3 separate regions of the Homo sapiens genome follow, and regions 2 and 3 are each linked to region 1. The links are contacts of gene promoters, found by promoter capture Hi-C in blood cells and fetal thymus (Javierre and others, 2016). All regions are on one chromosome and are shown on one strand. Each heading gives the region's core, a stretch centred on a gene start or on the middle of the fragment in contact. The rest is flanking DNA. Distances are from core to core; before and after follow the strand shown.

Evidence for each region. The method cuts DNA at HindIII sites, captures the fragments that hold promoters and counts their contacts. A CHiCAGO score of 5 or more calls a contact.
Region 2: a fragment that was not itself captured here is called in contact with the fragment with the promoter of THOC7-AS1 in region 1 in 6 of 17 cell types (naive B cells, total CD8 T cells, non-activated CD4 T cells and 3 more); the score reaches 7.1 in naive B cells.
Region 3: a fragment that was not itself captured here is called in contact with the fragment with the promoter of THOC7-AS1 in region 1 in 1 of 17 cell types (monocytes); the score reaches 5.4 in monocytes.

The regions. Positions count from the first base shown.
Region 1 is chr3:63,858,901-63,862,384 of GRCh38, reverse strand. THOC7-AS1 (THOC7 antisense RNA 1) reads right to left here and starts at 1,740. Exons shown (of 2, transcript NR_104326.1): 1 at 1,389-1,740; 2 at 566-886. All of the region lies in intron 1 of THOC7 (THO complex subunit 7), which reads left to right. The HindIII fragment of the contact is 14,056 bases long and covers 1-3,484 here.
Region 2 is chr3:64,482,018-64,485,501 of GRCh38, reverse strand. The region is part of intron 3 of LOC105377123 (a long non-coding RNA gene); the gene reads left to right. Among named protein-coding and RNA genes, the nearest start is that of PRICKLE2-DT, 39 kb to the right of the region's middle. The HindIII fragment of the contact is 1,958 bases long and covers 737-2,694 here.
Region 3 is chr3:63,322,296-63,325,779 of GRCh38, reverse strand. The region is part of intron 2 of SYNPR (synaptoporin); the gene reads right to left. Among named protein-coding and RNA genes, the nearest start is that of SYNPR, 46 kb to the right of the region's middle. The HindIII fragment of the contact is 3,760 bases long and covers 1-3,484 here.

The DNA.
Region 1 (3,484 bases), core at 491-2,990:
ACAAGGTTGGGAACTGTAGGAACATGTAACAAAGATTATTTATCCAATCAATGGAAATGAGAAAGCCTCCTCGAAGTTAATCCCATTTTTGAAGAATAAATAGATATTGGACTGGTGTTCTGGGTTGGTAGCCACTTGTATAAAGACCCCAAGATGTTGGAAGAACTCAAAGCTGACAAGTATTGCTAGAATTTAGAAAGTTATGAGCCAGAGATCTCTAAGGGCAATAGGAATCCATTAAAAGTTTTAACACTGGTGTGGTGTTAATCAGATTGGCATTAAAACACACACACATGCCGGGCACAGTGGCTCACGCCTGTAATCCCAACACTTTGGGAGGCCAAGGCAGGCGGACCTCTTGAGCTCAGAAGTTCAAGACCAGCCTGGAAAACATAGTGAGACCCCATGTCTACAAATACAAAAAAATTGGTCTGGCACAGTGGCACACACCTGTAGTCCCAGGACTTGGGAGTCTGAGGAGAAAGGATCACTTGAGCCTGGGAGGTTGAGGCTGCAGTGAGCCAAGATCGCGCCAGTGCACTCCAGTCTGGGTGACAGAGTGAGACCGTGTCTCATTAAAAAAAAAAAAAACACACACACACATACACACTGTCTCTGTTATGTGCAGAATGATTAGAGGAAGAGAAAATGAGGAGCTAAGTTTCCTCGCCACTTACTAACGTTTACGTAGTGCTGTTAGGTATTATTCTAATTGTTATCCCCATTTTACAGATGAAACAGACACAGGTTAGCTTGCCTAAGGTCGCACAGATAGTAGTTATAGAGGGTCAAAGGCAGGGAGACCACCTGCCGAGTTCCTGCTCTTCACTATTATGCGTCCTGTGTCTGCTACTTCTGCAGTGGCCCTGGTGAGAGACAATGAGGACTGTGACCAAGAGGGAATGCAAAGAGGACAGGTGGGAGGGAAATAGGGAAATTTGTGAGGTAGAATGTCAGGACTTCAGGTATTGAATGGATGGTGGGAGAAGGGATTTAGGATGATCCCAGGTTTTTGACTTCACTGTGTGCCTGTTAGTGCTACTTTTCTATTTATTGAGATTGAGATGTCCAAAGGAGCAACAGGCTTTGTCAGATGGGAGATAGGGACAGAAGATGAGTTCTAAAGTAATGACTGCAGTCAAGTGCCCCCCCACATCCTTAAAAGCCACAGGAATCTCTACCCTGCCACTTACAGACTGTCTCAGCTTCAGTCTCTGAACGGAGATAATAATAAAATCCACATCAGCGGATTGTTTTGAGGATTAAACACAAAAAGTTGTAAAGGGCTTTGCATTGAGTCCAACACATAATAATTAATATTCAGTAAATATTAATGTCAGAGTTGTTTTACTAATCTGTCTTCCACTTTCCTTTGATGTGGACTTTGCCTTCTCTCTTAATCTGCACAGGTTGCCTTTTCCTGCCTTTTCTATCAGGTGACACTCCACTTATTCCTCAAGACCCACCTCAAAAATCCCCTCTTTTCTTTCCTAGAAGTAGTTGACCTTCTGCCTACTAGCCATATTATTTTATGCATATTGCTGCTGTCACCCTTAATACGTTATTTATATGCCTTATGCTAGAAAACATTTAAGGCAGTTCACTGTAATGAGAAAATATAAAAATTAAACGGATTAGAAAACAAGACAAAAAGAACATTGAGATTAGGAAAAATAAAGGGAAGTCAGAAGTGGGGTGATCCTCAAAATGCAGGAGGATAAAGTCTAGTACATTAATTAACCAAGCTGTAAGTGACCTGTTTCTCCAGTAGGCCATTCTGAGAGGCAGGACCTCGTCTGCTCTGTGATCTAGTGTTCATGAGAGAAGGCAATCTTAGATGCCCAGGAAAAGCACTTTTTTTTTCTGATTTGAACTAGAGGAAAAGTTTATCATTGAGGTCTTTATAAATGAAAGCCAGTGTCATATCCTTAACCTCTTTTCAGCACTGAAGATCATAGAGCTGTTTTGTAGCACATCCCTTGCTAGGTAAAAGAAGGCTAAATCACAATTTAGAAAGACATTCTAAAGCCAGTAGAGGCTGGGTGTGGTAGCTCACACCTGTAATCAATCTTAGCACTTTGGGATGCTAAGGCAGGAGGATCACGTGAGCCCAGGAGTTTGCGACCATCCTAAGCAACACAGCAAGACATGATCTATACTACAGAATTTTTCAAATTAGCCAGGCGTGTGTGGTGGTGTGCACCTGTAGTCTCAGCTACTCATCTCTACTAAAAATTTTCTTAAATTAGCCAGGTGGAGTGGAACACACCTGTAGGTAGTCCCAGCTACTCAGGAGGCTGAGGCAGGAGGATCACTTGAGCCCAGGAGTTTGAGGTTGCAACGAGCCATGATTGCACCACTGCACTCCAGCCTGTCAACAGTGCTAGACCCTGTCTAAAAATAAATAAATAAAATCAATGGACAATGTGGTTTAGGTGGGTAGTGGGTAGCTCTGCTGATCTGGCTTGATTCAAATCAGGGTTTTTTGATTGAATATCTAGACCATAGAGGAAAGACAAACTACAACTTCTTCAGACAATCCTCTATAAACATGGTTTTTGTCAGCTGAGCTTTTGAAAAAATCAAGCTGAAATGAGTGGTATGTGTGATCCGTCAACAAGTATTTATTGCATACCTTCTAGGCACAATGCGAGGTCCTGGCTACTTTGCAGTGAACTAGACAGAGGAGGGCCCTGGCCCCTGCTTTGGGGAAAGAAGCCATAGTGTGCAATCAAATAAGTAAATAAGATAATTTCTGAAAAGGAATGTAATTAAGTTCTGAGAATGAACTTGATGGAATGAGGACAGAGAGTAATGGGGGAGGGCAGTGATACCTGACAGGTTCAACCACATGAAGAGCCCAGGAAAGTATTCCAGATAGAGACAACAACTAGTGCAAAGGCCCGAGGTGAAAACAAGCTCTGCACCCTTTAGAGGAAATAAGGAAAGCCACTGGGCTGGATCTAGGGACAGGACTGCATCCAGGTGGGCCAAGAGGAGTACGATGCAAAAGGAGGTAAAAGGGAGCTCAGGAGGAGCCTTGCAGGCTTTGGAAAGGAGACTGAATTGTCCTTTGTGGGCATTTAGAAATGATAGGAGGATTGTAAGCAGGAGAGTTAGTGATCCAATTCATCTTTTAGATCATTCTGAGTTGCATAAAAAATGGATTCTAGGAAGGCAAGAATGGAAACAGGGAGTCCAATGCAAAATATTCCAGATGAGAGAAATGTGGGCTTGGATTAGAGCGATGTTAGTGTGGAAGATAGAAGTGGATGCTCTTGATATCTCATTCATCCTCCTGGAAAGCTCTTGGAGGAGTACCAGTACCTGTCCATGGAGCTTACATAAGAGCCAATGTCTTTTACAAATTTGATGTGCCTGTATCACTGTCCCTTCATGTAATCCATTCCTCTGGGTCTGCGTATCCAGTTGGACTGGGAGCTCTTGAAGAAGCAGCCCTTTATTTCCTGCACTCAGTTTGAGG
Region 2 (3,484 bases), core at 466-2,965, 620 kb before region 1:
ACCCCATCTCTACTAAAAATACAAAAAATTAGCTGGGTGTGGTGGCACACACATAGTCCCAGCTACTTGGGAGGCTGAGGCCAGAGAATCGCTAGAACCTGGGAGGTTGAGGTTGCAGTGAGCCGAGATGGCACCACTACACTCCAGCCTGGGTGACAGAGCAAGACTCTGTCTCGAAAAATAAAAATAAAAAGAATCATCCAGGAGCTTTCATGAGCTACGAATGTTGAGAGACCTTCTACCCACTACCCCTAGATTCTGATTTAATTAGTCAGGGTTTGGCCCCTGGGTGTTGGTAGGTCTTGAATGTTCCCCAAGGCATTCCATAGCTACAGCAGGTAGGACCACAGCTCTAGCTGCTGCGTGAAGAATAGACAACAGGGGGAAGGGAGGAGATGCAAGAAGATCAGGAGGCTAATGCAGTGGTCCAGGTGAGGGATGATGGTGGCAGAGAATATGAAGGGGCTTAGACAGATTTTAAATATATTTCACAGAGAAAAACCCAACAGGACTTTTAGATTGATAGGATATGGGGTGGAGAGGTGGGACTTATATTCAGCATCAGATCGAAGGGAATGCCAGCCATAATAGTAAAGACCCTGTGCTTTTAGATAGCCTGCAGCTAGAAGACCCTGGCAACATAGCCTAACGTTGAGCACAGGGCCCCAAAGAAGTCCATCTTCTCTATCTGCCTGGCAACAAAGAAGATTTCAGCAAACTTAGCAAGATCTAAGCTTATCCTAAGTTCTCAGAGGAGCCACAATGTGAAAGGGACTTTACGAAAAAAAAATCTGAATACTCAGCTAGGATGTTCCTGTTTTACAGCCCAGTCTCCTGGGAACACTCTGGGCACTGGCCCTTCTGGGGAGAACAGGGGACTGGATGGTATATCCAGGAGTGACCAGCAGGTGGCATGCCAGACTCAGAAATGTGTATTGCAGGGAGCAAGGCAACTCTTGCTGTTTGCTGCTTAAACAGAAGAAAAGGATTCACTCCGGAAGTAATACTCATGTGTGCCATGTACTAAATGGCTACTGTGTGCCAGATACTGTGCCAAGTGCTTATGTGTATATTCTCATTTAATCCTCATAGCTCTACAAGGTGAGCTCCACCACTGTACATATATTCAGAGATCTAAGTGGCTTGGGCAATGTCACTGACATGGTCATTGGCAGAACCAGCCTTGGTCCTCTAGCCTGTCTGACCCCATGGCCACTTTTCCTGTCAAAAGGGCCAGGATCCCCAGCGGCTCTTTCTTGTCCACAGTGGTGCTCTCACTCACACTTGGGGGTAATGCCCTTGGAAGGTGGGGCCATCAGAATTATCAAAGCCTTTAAAGTCAAACGCCCTGGGCTTTGCCGCTCACTTGCTGTGCGATGGTAAGAAAGCTACTTGGCCTCTCTATCCTCAGGTTTCCTCATCTCTAAAATGGGGTGAGGCTGGGCCCAATGGCTCACTCTTGTAATCCCAGCACTTTGGGAGGCTGAGGCAGAAGGACTGCTCGAAGCCCGGAGTTCGATACTAGCCTGGGCAACAAAGTGAGACCACGGCGCTACAAAAAAAAAAAAAAAAAAATTAAAATGCGTTGAGACGTGAGGCAGTGAGCTGTGGTGAGATGATCTTATGTAACTGACCCAGAATCTTGCTTGCTTGGCCCAGAGGAGTGCTCAATGAATGGCAGCTTTTCTGCTTAAAATGATTTCACAGGAGGTAGAGACAACTCTGAAAGGTCTAAAACTGTGCTATCCAATGGTGCTCTCTGCAGTGATAGAAATGCTCTATAACTGTGCTGTCCAGCAGCATAGTCATAACCACATGTGGCTATTGAGTGCTTAATACATAGCTAGTGCAACTGAGAGATTGAATTTTAAATTTTACTTAATTACAATAAATGTAAATTTCAATAACCATATGTGGCCAGTGGCTACCGTATTGGACAGTGCAAGTCTAAAATGTGTCTGCGCTCACAGTCTGTGTGTCCTTTACAGCCCCTTGGGTATGAAACAAAATAAGTTATGTTCAACATTTGGATCCTGGCATATAGCAGGCACCCAGTAAATTTGAGTTAGTCAGAAATGGGAGAGAAAGGAAAATCAGTAAGTGAAGCCAAAGCAATGTTTTACATTTAACAAATTGTGTAAAATTGTAGAACTGGACTCTCAGACTTCTCCAGCAAAATCTTCCAGAGTTCAGTAACCATGGGGGACTGACTGGGGCAGGTTGTTAGTTTTTTACCCTTTCAAGCCAGAATTCTCTAAATATTTCTTCAGCCTGTATTCGATGGGGACAGAGAACAAATGTGTTCAAGTGAATAACGTGTGTGTTCAATACAAATTCCTTTCATCTATTCACTGACTAAAGAACACTTCCTCCTTTTCTGTGCCCCCTCTTCAAATTTTTTTTTGCAATTTCACAAATCAGACAACTGCTTAGAAAGTTTATTCTCTCTCTCTCTCTCTCTCTTTTGTTTTGTGTGTTTGTTTTTTGAGACAGGGTCTCACTCTGTTGCCGAGGCTGGAGTGCAATGGTGAGATCTCAGCTCACTGCAGCCTCAACTTTCTGGAGCTCAGATGATCCTCCACCTCATCCTCCCAAGTAGCTGGGACTATAGGCATGTACCACCACACCCAGACTATTTTTGTGTTTTTTCTGTAGAGACAAGGTTTCACATGTTGCCCAGGTGGGTCTCAAGCTTCTGGGACCAAGTTACTTGCTTGTCTTGGCCTCCCAAAGTGCTGGGATTACAGACATGAGCCAGCATGCTGCGCCAAAAGATTTTAAAGGTTCAAAGTATAAATAACAAAACAACTGGCCCCCCAGGAAGCAGCACTATATCATGCATTTCTCACTTCCAAAATTTTATCTATCCAGATTTTGTTTTTAAGTGATGGTCAGTTGGCAATTCTTGCATGTTCCATAGTTGAATCTTGCAGTTTATAAAAGCTAGTGGCAAACATTTTCTCCAGAGGTAGGTCTGCATTGGCTGACACTGCCATTTGCTTCTATCTGAAGATAATTTCTAGTCAATATTGGGACCAATTTGCATTCCACCTGTGGTTTAAGAAAAATCTGAGTTAATAGACATCTTATTTCCAAAGTATCCCAGTGATGTGTAGTGGTCCTTGTGGACTGGCCCCCTGGGCTGCTGGTCCATTTCCTAACCTGGCTCTGACCCAGTTAAGACCAAGCCCCTCTCCTCCAGAGCATCCTGTTCTGGCCACAGGGCGGACATTCTTACCTATACCAGGCAGAACCTTTCTTACCTGTACAGGGCAGAGCCATTCGTTGCTCCTCACCATTCTGAAGACTTGTACTCTATCTGGGTGCCCTAGCTACCAACATGAAGTAGCGGTGATCACAGCTCCTTGAACAAGACCTATGGCTCTGACAACAAACAGCCCCATGAAAGGAGCTGCTTTTGCTTTTTGTATTTTTAACTTTTCCCTTCACTATACCTCAAAGCCCTCTAGGAACATAGAGAATC
Region 3 (3,484 bases), core at 541-3,040, 540 kb after region 1:
GTCAGATGTCAGCTGTGTGGATGGACAGTTTCCACCGAGAATGATGGGAGGACAGACATTACTTTCCAAGGTTACCTAAGCCAGGAGTCAAATGGGGACAAATCCAAACTGGGAATTTGCTCAGTCTCCATTTGGAGTGTGTTGAAATCTGACTAAATGAATTTACACTGAGTGTAGGAGGCCAGCAGGGGCCCTGCCAGGTCCAGATGGAGAACCAGCTAGCCACTCCCTACTGTCACCAGGTTGGCACCTCAGTAAGATCCTGGGCTTAGGATCTTTCCTGGGTAGAAAGGGGGAATAAATTGGAGAAGGTGAATATGATTACATTTTGTACCTGAGTGACTAACACATGCTGCATCGGACCTTTCCTGAGAGTGTGTAGATGATGTTCTGACCACTAGGTAGGTTGTAGGTTCAAATTATTTTATTAAAGAAACTAATGAAAATTATGTTTCTTGTGTACCCCAAGTGAGTGATGCTAAGAATTCATACCTATTACATGTGAGCAAATGCTTGGTACATGTGAATGGTCATTACTATTATCTGCAAGATCTAATTAACGTTCTGTCTCTTGTCACCTAAGAATTAAGTTGTAATTACAGTGGCTGTTCTGCCATACTATAAATAATTTCTACTAATACTATACTAGCAGAGAATTTTTCAGCTTCTAACCTGTTGGGAGAAGAGGATATAAATGCAGAAGGCTCACCAGATGGCCTCATTAAAAAACAACTCTGATTTTCATAAAGCATTCTTCACCATTCTCAACCTGAGTTAGTGTAACTGAGGCATTATGAGGGAAAAATGCCTTGAGAGAATCAGAAACTCTCAAAGAAAATTTTCTGATATGTTCATAGGAAAACATGTGCCTCTTGCTTGTGGTATTTGTTGTGCTCTCTCCTGAGGTCCGTGTAGAACAGTCAGTTACCCGTCACCATCTGGCCAGGCTAATTCTGGGTGGCTGCAGCTGCAACCCAGTGTCTGGTAATCACAGCTCCAGGTCCTCTCCATACTAAATAGCTAGCTCAACTTGCTGCCTGGTGAGCAGATTCCACTGCAGGCAGCTTCCCTTTCTAGTAGGAGATCCAGATTTCAAAGCACCAAAGAGGACTCTTGTAATTTATAAACCCAATACTATATATTTCCTTTCTCTCCTCTTAGTAGTCTATATTGGGCTTTCAAGACCACTCACCTGGACCACACATCTCACTGGATAAGTCGTCTTACATGGACTGGTGCAGTAGTCCCATAATTGGTCCCTCTGTTCTGATTTTCCATTCTATAATCTATCTTATGCTGATTCCAGATTAATCCTCCAAAAGCCCAAATCAAGCCATGTCACCTCCCAGCTCACAAACTTTCAGTGTTTCCCCGTTGGCTACAGGATAAATGCAAATTTCCTGGCTTAGCCTTCAAGGCTCTTTATTGTCTGATCCCAGTCTTGAGAAGCCATACATTGTAATGGTTAAGAGTTCAGGTTGAGGTCACTGATACTAGTTCAAAGCTCAGGTTCTCTGCTTTCTTAATATCTTTTCATCAAGGTGGCCACTCTTTCAGTTCACTCATCTTAAAATGAGATTAATAATACTTACACAACTGTTGTAGGGATTGAGTTAAATAAAAATAATTTGCCTAGTACCTTTGCACTGAAAATACTCATTAGACACAAGTGACAGTTACAATAATTGCAATTAAATTTTCAGCATCATTTTTCATTATTGGCCAATATTCCAGCTGCCATGCTTATTGAAGCAGTATACTATAGGTGGCTAAACATTAGGACTTTGTAATAAGACTGAGTTTAAATGCTGACTCTGCTACTTATTGTGCAAGTTGGGCAAGTTATTCATCATGCTGGGCTTCACTGTCCTTCTCAGTAAAATGGAAATAATAATAACTGCCTCATGGGAATGTTGTGAGTATTAAATGAGAGAATGCATGTGAAAAACAACAATTCTTGGAACAAAGTGCTAAGGAAAAGTAAATATAATTTCCTGTCCTATTATCACCTTATTTTAATATACTCTCTTTGAATGTACATTTTAAATTTTATTTGCATTTTTGCTTTTGTTTTTCTTTTCTTTGTCTATTCTAGAACCACCCTATAAACCTTACTCTTTTATTTGTAATTCTCCAGGTCCTACAGTCTTTGAACTCTGATCAAATGCTCAAGTGTTTCCTTCTCCAAAAGTCTTCCATCATGTCTCAGCAAAAAACAATGCCAAAAAAAAATTATTTGGGGAGTATAAAGAAGTACTTTCCAACACACCTGAGATTTTCTGGCCTGTGTATGTTTTATCTTATCAACTAAGTAATGAAGTTCAAGGATTTAATCTTCATATTAACTCCATAGTAGAAACTCAATAAATGCCTGTAGAATTGAATAAATTTCATCCAGTTTTCCCTCTCCCTTTTTGCCATAAGGCCCAGAAATTTAGGAATTAAAGCTGTGAAGTGGAAAGAAAGAAGGTTGGCTTTCCATTGGAAAGTGGATCAGTCCATAGCATTACCTTTGGCTCTTTCTTATTTCCTCTGGGGCCAGTTTTGAGTATTATGCCCTTATGAGAAAGGATTGTTGACTCAAAAGCGCTCAGTTGGGCAAGAAACAAACATCAAAAGCTCTTCCCCAGCAAACTCCACAGTCACTCTGCAGCTTGAGCCCTGCTATTTTCAATTTTACTGATGTGCTTAAACTAGTCCTGCTTTGTGCCTTTTCTGAATCTTGAAAAAGAGGCCTCTTGGGAGCTTAAAGTCTTATCTTCTACTCTTATCATGGCTGTGCCTACTGGAAGAAGCTCTCACTGGGCAACCCTCAATAAAAAGCCTCTCCCTGTCCCTTAAGAAAATGTCTAAGCAGGAGAAATGCCCTATAGCACAGAGAGCCCTTAGAGGCTGCTGCATTCTTGATTTTGTAGTCTCTTCCATAAAATTTTACTCTCAATGAGTGAGTGGGTCTTACATAAGAACTTACAAATTCCTTTGTATATGTTTACATTTGCCTCAATGATGAGGTTCTCAAAGGCAGAGGACTGAATGTCTTTGGCCCCACACAGACCTAAGCTCCAAAACTGGAAGGTCGAATGATTGTGAACAAGTGACTTTGTGTCTTTGTGCTTTAGTTTTTTGTTTGTAGAATGGGGACAGGACCACCTAAGTCACAGAATCATTGTGAGCATTAAAGACCTGAGACCTTTACATAAAAGCCTCCATATAATCAGAAATACTTTTAATTAATTTACATTTGTGAAGGCAGTATAGGCTAGTGGTCAAGCGTATACATTTTTGGTAGCAGGCCAACCTGGATTTAAGCCCTGACTTACTCACACTAAACTATGTGACTTCAGGAGAGCCATTCACCTTTGTGCCTTTGTTTCCTGATCTGTAAAGTGGAAATAACACCACTCCATGAACATCTATGGGAGATTAATAAGTTTGAGAAAGTAAAGTGCCTAGCACAGTACCTAGTCCACATGTGGCACTGAAA